Regions from separate parts of the Homo sapiens genome. Here region 1 is linked to region 2. The links are contacts of gene promoters, found by promoter capture Hi-C in human tissues and cell types (Jung and others, 2019). All regions are on one chromosome and are shown on one strand. Each heading gives the region's core, a stretch centred on a gene start or on the middle of the fragment in contact. The rest is flanking DNA. Distances are from core to core; before and after follow the strand shown.

Region 1 (5,376 bases), core at 2,139-4,638, 230 kb before region 2:
CAGAAACAGGATGATACAAACATCATACATAACATGCAAAAGTCTAGGTGTGGCAGCTCACACCTGTAATCCCAGCACTTTGGAGGGCCAAGGTGGGAGGATCATTTGAGGCCAGGAGCTGGAGACCAGCCAAGAGGCGGGGATTAAAGAAGGGGCAACATAGTGAGATGCACACCCCCATCCCCGGTCTCTTAAAAGAAAAAAAGTTAGTTTCATATGCTTAAATAGAAGAAGTAATTAAAATCATGATTAAGCCAATCAAAGGAATATGTAGAAAATAACCTAATACATTCATTCATTCATTCATTCATTCATTTGAGACGGAGTCTCGCTCTGTCACCCAGGCTGGAGTGCAGTGGCGCGATCTCGGCTCACTGCAACCTCTGCCTCCCGGGTTCAAGTGATTCTCCTGCCTCAGCCTCCTGAGTAGCTAGGACTACAGGCGCACGCCACCACGCCCGGCTAATTTTTGTATTTTTAGTAGAGATGGGGTTTCACCATATTGGTCAGGCTGGTATTGAACTCCTGACCTCGTAATCTGCCCGCCTCGGCCTCCCACAGTGTGGGGATTACAGGTGTGAGCCACTGCACCTGACCTATACTTTTAAAAATAAAAAATACAATAAATGAAATGTAAAAACTGAGGCCAGGTGTGCTGGCTCGCACCTGTAATCCCAGCACTTTGGGAGACTGAGGCAGGTGAATCACCTAAGGTCAGGAGTTTGAGACGAGCCTGGCCAACATGGTGAAACCCCATCTCTACTAACAAATACAAAAATTAGCTGGGCGCGTAGGGCGTGCCTGTAGTCCTGGCTACTGGGGAGTTTGTGGTGGGAGAATCAACTGAACCAGGGAGGCAGAAGATGCAGTGAGCCGAGATCATGCCACTGCATGCTAGCCTGGGTGACAGAGCAAGACTGTCTCAAAACAAAAAGAAAAGAAAGAGAATGCTGGGGGATTTGATTATAAATTAATATGCAAGCAAATTATCAGATATATAGTAATTATAAATATTAATATGATAATTTTAAAAGTGAGAAACAAGCAATAGAACAGACCAACACACTTGTAGTTAGCATAACTAGAGAGTATAGTTAGCAGAAAAGGACTTTAAAATAACTACTAAGTGTGATCAACAAAATAGACATGGTAGAACACAAATGAAGAAATAGAGAATTCTGCCAGAGAATTAAAATCTACTAAAAAATAAAAAAGGGCCAGGTGCCGTGGTTCATGCCTATAATCCCAACATTTGGGAGGCTAGGGCAGAAGGACTGCTTGAGGCCAGGAGTTTGAGACCAGCCTTGGCAATACAGCAACACCCCATCTCTATAAAACATAAACATTTTTGGAAGGCTGAGGCAGGAAGATCACTTCAGCCTGGGAGGTCAAGGCTACAGTGAGCCATGACTGTGCCACTGCACTCCCACCTGCATGACAGAGCCAGATACTGTCTCTAAAAAGAAAAAAAAAAAATTTTTTTTAAGACAGGGTCTGCTTCTGTCACCCAGGCTGAAGTGTGTGGCACAATCATGGCTCACTGCAGCCTTGACTTCCCGGGCTCAAGTGATTCTTCCACCCCAGTCTCCCAAGCAGCTGGGACTAGAGGCACATGACCAACATCCAGCTAAGGTTTGTTTTTTAGTTCTTTTTCTTTTTCTTTTTTTTTTTGAGACGGAGTCTCGCTCTGTCGCCCAGGCTGGAGTGCAGTGGTCTGATCTCTGCTCACCGTAAGCTCCACCTCCCGGGTTCACGCCATTCTCCTGCCTCAGCCTCCGGAGTAGCTGGGACTACAGGCGCCCGCCACCATGCCCGGCTAATTTTTTGTATTTTTAGTAGAGACGGGGTTTCACCGTGTTAGCCAGGATGGTCTCGATCTCCCGACCTTGTGATCCGCCCGCCTCGGCCTCCCAAAGTTCAGGGATTACAGGCGTGAGCCACCGTGCCCGGCCCTTTATTTTTTTCTTTTTGAGACAGAGTCTCACTCTGTCACCCAGGCTGGAGTGCAGTGGCACGAATTTGTCTCATTGCAACCTCTGCCTCCAGAGTTCAAGTGATCCTCCTGCCTCAGTCTCCCAAGTAGCTGGGATCAAAAGCATAAGCCACCATGCCTGGCTTATTTTTAGTAGAGACAGGGTTTCACCATGTTGGCCAGGCTGGTCTCGGACTCCTAACCTCAAGTGATCTACCCAGCTAGGCCTCCCAAAGTAATGGGATTACAGGCATGAGCCACTGCCTGGCCTGATATTTGTATTTTTTGTAGAAATGGGGTTTCATCATGCTGCCCAGGCTAGGAAAAAAAAATTTAATCTATAAAACAAGAATCAAATGGAAAAATCCAGAGCTAAGAAAGACAATATGTGAAATATGAAACTTAATAAAAGGTTAAATAGCAGATTAAACACATCAGAAGATATGGTTAGTGAAATGGAAAAGAAGTCAACAGAAAACAGCCTAACTTAAACCTAGAGAGGAAAAAATGATGAAAAATACAGAAAAGAATATAACAGACACACGTGGCACTGTGAACGGGTCTACAAACATGTAACTGAGTCCTAGAAGTGGAGCAGAGAAAGAACAGAAGGGAAACAATACTCAGAGACATAATAACCATATTTCAAAATAGATGAAAGACATAAACCCATAGATTCAAGAAACTCTGTGAACCTCAAGCAGGATAAATAAAGAAAACTGCACCTGAATATAACATAGTAAAACTGCAAAGAATCAAAGAAAGTGAGAAAATCTTAAAAACACACAGAGGAAAGAAACATTTCCTTAAGTGGATATAATATGTGACTAATAAATCTAACAGACAATTTCTCAACAGAAATGAGAGAAGATAATGAAATTAAATCTTCAAAGTGCTGAAAAAAAATTATCAAACTCAAGTTGGAGATGTGCAATATACTGTCAGTAAGAGTTAAAAAAGAAATAAGAAAATACATTCAACTGAAAGAAAATATAAAATATAAAATATTATAGAAGAAGCAGGATTGGAAAAAATACAAAATATCAAAATATGTAGAATAAAATTAAAGTAATGCTTAAAGAGAATTTTACAGCTTTGGATTTTTATTTTATTTATTTATTTAGAGACGGAGTCTTCTTCTGTTGCCCAGGCTGCAGTGCAGCGGTGCAATCTGGGCTCACTGCAGCCTCCACCTCCTGGGTCCAAGCAATTCTCCTGCCTCAGCCTCCCAAGTAGCTGGAATTATAGGCACATGCCATCATGCCTGACTAATTTTTGTATTTTAAGTAGAGATCAGATTTTGCCATGTTGGCCAGGCTGGTCTAGAACTCCTGACCCTCAGGCGATCTGCCCCACTTTGCCTCCCAAAGTGCATGAGCCACCATGCCCAAAGGCATGAGTCACCACGCCCAGCCCAGGGATTTTTATACTAGAAGAGGAAAAAGAGCATAGTGGCTCACACCCGTAATCCCAACACTTTGGGAGGCCAAGCTGGGGGCAGATCACCTGAGGCTAGGAGTTTGAGACCAGCCTGGCCAACATGGCGAAACCCTGTCTCTACTAAAAATACAAAAATTAGCTGGGCCACTGTGATGGCACATGCCTGTAATGCCAGCTACTCAGGAGGCTGAGGCAGGAAAATCACTAGAACCCAGGAGCCAGAGGTGGCAGTGAGTCAAGATCACACCACTGTACTCCAGCCTGAGGGACAGAGTGAGACTCTGTCTCAAAAATAAAAATAAAGTCAGTTGGCCAGGCGAGGAGGCACGCCTGTAATCCCAGCACTTTGGGAGGCCAAGGTGCGCAGATCACGAGGTCAGGAGACCAAGACCATTCTGGTTAACACGGTGAAACCCTGTCTCTACTAAAAATACAAAAAATTGGAGGAGCCAAGATGGCCGAATAGGAACAGCTCCGGCCTACAGCTCCCAGGGTAAGCGACGCAGAAGACGGGTGATTTCTGCATTTCCATCTGAGGTACCGGGTTCATCTCACTAGGGAGCACGCAGTGGGCGCAGGACAGTGGGTGCAGCGCACCGTGCGCGAGCCGAAGCAGGGCAAGGCATTGCCTCACTCGGGAAGCGCAAGGGGTCAGGGAGTTCCCTTTCCTAGTCAAAGAAAGGAGTGACAGATGGCACCTGGAAAATTGGGTCACTTCCACCCCAATACTGCGCTTTTCCGACGGGCTTAAAAAACGGTGCACCAGGAGATTATATCCCGCACATGGCTTGGAGGGTCCTACACCCACGGAGTCTCGCTGATTGCTAGCACAGCAGTCTGAGATCAAACTGCAAGGCAGCAGCGAGGCTGGGGGAGGGGTACCCGCCATTGCCCAGGCTTGCTTAGGTAAACAAAGCAGCCAGAAAGCTCGAACTGGGTCGAGCCTACCACGGCTCAAGGAGACCTGCCTGCCTCTGTAGGCTCCACCTCTGGGGGCAGGGCACAGACAAAGAAAAAGACAGCAGTAACCTCTGCAGACTTAAATGTCCCTGTCTGACAGCTTTGAAGACAGCAGTGGTTCTCCCAGCACGCAGCTTGAGATCTGAGAACGGGCAGACTGCCTCCTCAAGTGGGTCCCTGACCCCGACCCCTGAGCAGCCTAACTGGGAGGCACCCCCCAAGTAGGGGCAGACTGACACCTCACATGGCCAGGTACTCCTCTGAGACAAAACTTCCAGGGGAACATCAGACAGCAGCATTCACGGTTCACGAAAATCCGCTGTTCTGCAGCCACCACTGCTGGTACCCAGGCAAACAGGGTCTGGAGTGGACCTCTAGCAAACTCCAACAGACCTGCAGCTGAGGGTCCTGTCTGTTAGAAGGAAAACTAACAAACAGAAACAGCATCCACACCAAAAACCCATCTGTACATCCCCATCATCAAAGACCAAAAGTAGATAAAACCACAAAGATGGGGAAAAAACAGAGCAGAAAAACTGGAAACTCTAAAAAGCAGAGCGCCTCTCCTCCGCCAAAGGAATGCAGCTCCTCACCAGCAACGGAACAAAGCTGGACGGAGAATGACTTTGACGAGTTGAGAGAAGAAGGCTTCAGACGATCAAACTACTCCAAGCTACAGGAGGAAATTCAAACCAAAGGCAAAGAAGTTGAAAACTTTGAAAAAAATTTAGACTAATGTATAACTAGGATAACCAATACAGAGAAGTGCTTAAAGGAGCTGATGGAGCTGAAAGCCAAGGCTCAAGAACTACGTGAAGAATGCAGAAGCCTCAGGAGCCAATGCGATCAACTGGAAGAAAGGGTATCAGTGATGAAAGATGAAATGAATGAAATGAAGCGAGAAGGGAAGTTTAGAGAAAAAAGAATAAAAAGAAACAAACAAAGCCTCCAAGAAATATGGGACTATGTGAAAAGACCAAATCTACGTCTGATTGGTGTACCTG
Region 2 (4,942 bases), core at 1,009-3,508:
AGCTCTATTGTCTTTCCTGACATCTTTGCCCGTCTTCTTTTTGTACAGTTTGATGAAGTGTTCCATGACACGCTGGTCAAAGTCTTCTCCACCCAGATGAGTATCTCCATTAGTGGCCACAACTTCGAAGACACCATTGTCAATGGTGAGAAGAGACACATCGAAGGTTCCGCCACCCAGGTCAAACACCAGGATGTTCTTCTCCCCCTCCCTCTTATCCAGGCCATAAGCAATAGCAGCTGCCGTACTATTAGATTGAAAAAGGGAAAAGTTTTGTCAGTACTTCACATTTCCACTATTTGGCAAATATGCCGTATCCCTGAATTTCATACTTACGGCTCGTTGATGATCCTCATAACATTTAGGCCAGCAATAGTTCCAGCGTCTTTGGTTGCTTGGCGTTGGGCATCATTAAAATAGGCTGGTACAGTAACAACTGCATGGGTAACCTAAAAGGATAAAAGATAATTAAGTGTATTGTCACATAGTTTAACCCTTATTTAAATTACAGTCTGGCCAGGCGGTGGCTTCTGCCTATAATCCCAGCACTTTGGGAGGCTGAGGCAGGAGGATCACCTGAGGGCAGGATTTCAAGACCAGCCTGGGCAATGTGGAGAAACCCTGTCTCTACTGAAAATTAAAAAAAAAAAAAAAAATTAGCCAGGTGTGGTGGTGTGCCTGTAGTTCCAGTTACTTGGGAGGCTGAGGCAGGAGAGCTGCTTGAACCCGGGAGGCAGAGGTTGCAGTGAGCTGAGATCGTGCCACTGCAGTCCAGCCTGGGCAACAGAGCAAGACTCCATCTCAAAAAAAAAAAATTACAGTCAAACCATCACTTTAGTTTTTAAGCCAACTTATTGATGAATACAACATATAAAATTTTATGTCCCTGGAATTGTAAGCATTAAATAATACATGAAAAGTCTATTTTGTTTGGCTTATAGTAAGGGACTCAATAATTAAACCTGACAAGCATGAATACCATTCTGATTAAAATTTTTGAAACCCTTCACGAAGGCTTCTATACATAACAGCCAACCGAGAATACTAATGATCAAAAAATACTTAACATTGTTCTAGAAATATTTACCTTCTTTCCCAAATAAGCCTCAGCGGTTTCTTTCATTTTAGTGAGAACCATGGCAGAAATTTCTTCAGGAGCAAATGTCTTTGTTTGCCCACCTCCAATATCAACTTGAATGTATGGTTTAGTTTTCTTTTCAACCACCTATTTTAAAGAATTATTGTTTTCAGACACAGATACAATGACATCTCAAAGTTTAAAAGACCCACTACCATCCCCACAATTTGGTTTATTTTGGTCCCTTGGGGCTGCAAATTGACTAGAAATACTTCAGGGAGTATAGGTGTCTTACAAAGTTCAGTTTTAATCGGTCTTTTATTCCTAAACTATCGTAGACAGTACGACAGCAACTGTCTTAAGTTTTGTAACATACTAATAGTATTAAAGTTATTACATACATCATGTCTATAACCTTCAACTGTTGTCTCAACACTTTTCCAGAGACTTATAACTCTAAATACTCCCACCACCCACCCGTTCTCTAACTGGATGAGAAAAACCCGGTCGAACCTTGAACGGCAAGAACTTGATGTCCTGCTGCACAGACGGGTCATTCCACGTGCGGCCGATGAGCCGCTTGGCGTCAAAGACCGTGTTCTCGGGGTTGGAGGTGAGCTGGTTCTTGGCGGCATCGCCAATCAGACGTTCCCCTTCAGGAGTGAAGGCGACATAGGACGGCGTGATGCGGTTGCCCTGATCGTTGGCGATGATCTCCACGCGGCCGTTCTTGAACACGCCGACGCTGGCAGAAAAACCCGACAGAGGGACATCAGCACCGCACTTCTCACGCCAGGCCAGGCGGCCACGCCCCGTCCCCCTGCATCCGCAACCCCACTTACCAGGAGTAGGTGGTCCCCAGGTCGATGCCGACCACCGTGCCCACGTCCTCCTTCTTGTCCTCCTCCTCGGCCCGCGCCGCGCTGAGCAGCAGCAGCATCGCGGCCACCAGGGAGAGCTTCATCTTGCCAGCCAGTTGGGCAGCAGCAGGCAGTCCAGCCACAGGCCGTAGCACAGGAGCACAGCGCAATTTCCGACTTGCAGGCGGCAGGGGCCCGGGGTCACAAGGCGCCACGAACCAGGCGAAGGGCAGGTCTAGAAATACAGGCCGCGGCGCTTCCCTCTCACACTCGCGAAACACCCCAATAGGTCAATCTGTCTGTGCTGTCTTGGCCGGCGTCGACCTCACCGTCGCCTACTCGGCTTATATACCCTCCCCCAGCCCCGTCGTGGAGGCCGCCGATTGGTGAAGGCCCTGCTCGTTGGAGGCCGTTCATTGGCCCAGGCCACCAAGCTGGCCGCCGCCGATTCGAAGCGGCCCCCTCCGCAATAAACGTCACTGCTCCGCCCCCCCCAGCTGATTCATTGGCTGCTATTCGTTTCTAACGTTCACCAATGGTAGATAACATCCGCCCCATCCGCTGGTCCCATTGGTTCAGCAGCTGTCTATCTCTCCTGCGACTTCTGACCCCGAGGCATTTCCGCTGGTAACCGCACAAGTCCCGCCTTCACTCCCGGCCCTAGGGGGTCGGAGTAGGTCCAGCAGGAGTGACCCCCCGGGGCTGTGGGATCTGAAACTTTTTCTTCTCTACTGCTTGTTCTCCCTTCCTCCATCCCTCACCCCGAAGCGGGAAGCAGCTTTCTCTTCCCAGCTTCCATCCAGTCTCTGAGTAGACCAGTCGCAGCTTAGATGCTGGGATCGCCTCAGAACACATTTCTTTGCCCTTCACGGCCACTACCGGTATTGGGGTATGCGAGTCTCAGGGCCGTTCGTTGCTCACAGGTCGAGCTGGTCTGGACTCTGTTCGACCACGAATCATGACTCCTTCCTGCCAGTTATGTCCCCTCCGCACCCTTGCCCAGCCATTTTACCAGGCCTCTCCACATTGCGCTGCCCCACGGTAAGTCGCAGGACAAGCCCGGCCAAAGGAATTGCCTCCAGCTCTGAGTCCCCTCCCTACTGTGGCAACCCACTCCAGTGCCAGCCCTCCCACACTGGATGTCTAATTTTTCTAGCTTGCCACCCTTTACTTTCCCCTCCGCTGCCCATCCTTTCCCTCTGGGGCAAAGGTTATCATTTACGGGGCTTTCTCCATCCTTTATTGTTGATACTTTTCTACCTTCATTCCAGGAAAAGGTCTGATGTACACGCAGACAACACATTTGATAGGCGAAAATCGTCTTGATAATGCCTTATTCTTATATAACATCCTGTTGCAAAAAATAATAGAGACCACTATTTGCTGAAAGCCTACCGTGGATTAAGCATTGTTCAGTGTGCTTTTCATGTGTCATTTAGTCTTGACAGTTCAATACTCGGTAGGCATTTCCCGTTTTCCAGATGAGGACATTGAAACTGAAAAAGATTAAATAACTAAACAAGTCACAGAGCTGGTGAGTGATGGAGTTAGGATTGATAACCAGGTGGAGTTCACTCTATTGCCAATACTTTTTTTTTTTTCAAGACGGAGTATCACTCTGTCACGCCCAGGCTGGAGTTCAGTAGTGCAATCTCAGCTCACTGCAACCTCCGCTTCCGGGGTTCAAGCGATTCTCCTGCCTCAGCCTCCTGAGTAGCTGGGATTACAGGCACGCACCACCATGCCTGGCTAATTTTTTTTTTTTTTTTTTTGTGGAGATGAGGTTTCACCATTTTAGCCAGGCTGGTTTCGAACTCCCAACCTCAAGCGATCTGCCCACCTCGGCCTCCCAAAGTGCTGGGATTACAGGTGTGAGACACTGTGCCTGATCTCTTAACTTTAAAACAAAAAATTCATCTGTGGCCGGGCGTGGTGGCTCACGCCTGTAATCCCAACACTTTGGGAGGCCGAGGTGGGCGGATCACGGGGTCAGGAGATCAAGACCATCCGGGGTAACACGATGAAACCCCATCTCTATAAAAATCCAAAAATTAGCTGGGCGTGGTGGTGCATGCCTGTAGTCCCAGCTACTCGGGAGGCTGAGGCAGGAGAATCGCTTGAACCCGGGAGGTGGAGGTTGCAGTGAGCCGAGATCACGTCACTACACTCCAGCCTGGGCAGCAGAGCTAGACTCCATCTCAAAAAAAAAAAAAAAATTCATTTGTTTGAGGAATGTTTTTGGAGGACCTACTATGGAAAGGGCAAAGCTCTGATATGAAATATTTGAGATTCATGGGTATACTGTGTCCAGATACCACTAAAACATCCTAAACACACTTTATTAAGATGTTGAGCCTGTGACTCAGTACTCAAGAATTTTCTTTTTCCTTAGTGCTTCTCAAAGGTTAGACTGGTGACTCAAGAGTTGACTCTGTTCACTACAGAGGTTGCATCATGCATCTCTTTCAGCAGGGCTTGTAATCCTGCGGCAACATTGACCCTTCTTTGGCTTGCATCAGTCCAGCATTAAGATAGAAATCATCATTTGACCACATTACAGCTTCTTTCATTTCAATCAAATGTTTTTATAGTGCAGTCCATTTCCATTAAAAAAAAAAACTCTCCATTTCAGCCTTATCCTTGATTAACAGAGTAACGTTTTGTAACTCTCCTTTTTGTAAAATTTAGAAAAGCGATACATGGCTAACTTCCAAAGGGAATTGAATATATTGTGGTTTCATCTTTTTAAAACCAGACATTTTACATACATTTTCTAGTATATTCCAAAGCACAGTCACTTACGAATAGGAAAGTACATGGTCAAAACTAGCTTGCTGAACATTAAATGCCAAAAATAATATCCAGGTCAAGTTATCAATACTTAACTGTTAGACACTGTGCTAAAGACGTACGTGCATTATCTCTTTTTATCTTTAAGAAAGCAGTTTTTTGTAATCCCAGTATTTTGGGAGGCCGAGGTGGGCGGATCACGAGGTCAAGAGAT

What was found. Contacts are between HindIII fragments. The study calls those that stand out against the background at their distance.
Region 1: a fragment that was not itself captured here is called in contact with the fragment with the promoter of HSPA5 in region 2 in 1 of the 25 tissues and cell types used here (spleen).

What each region holds. Positions count from the first base shown.
Region 1 is chr9:125,006,193-125,011,568 of GRCh38, forward strand. The region is part of intron 9 of SCAI (suppressor of cancer cell invasion); the gene reads right to left. Among named protein-coding and RNA genes, the nearest start is that of GOLGA1, 68 kb to the left of the region's middle. The HindIII fragment of the contact is 6,592 bases long and covers 93-5,376 here.
Region 2 is chr9:125,239,085-125,244,026 of GRCh38, forward strand. HSPA5 (heat shock protein family A (Hsp70) member 5) reads right to left here and starts at 2,259. Exons shown (of 8, transcript NM_005347.5): 1 at 1,921-2,259; 2 at 1,592-1,823; 3 at 1,088-1,225; 4 at 337-449; 5 at 1-247. The coding sequence starts at 2,042. It overlaps HSPA5-DT (HSPA5 divergent transcript), which reads left to right and starts at 2,572. Exons shown (of 3, transcript NR_186826.1): 1 at 2,572-2,979. RefSeq lists enhancers at 1,668-1,747, 1,889-2,393, 2,286-2,580, 2,394-2,898, 2,548-2,857. The HindIII fragment of the contact is 17,872 bases long and covers 1-4,942 here.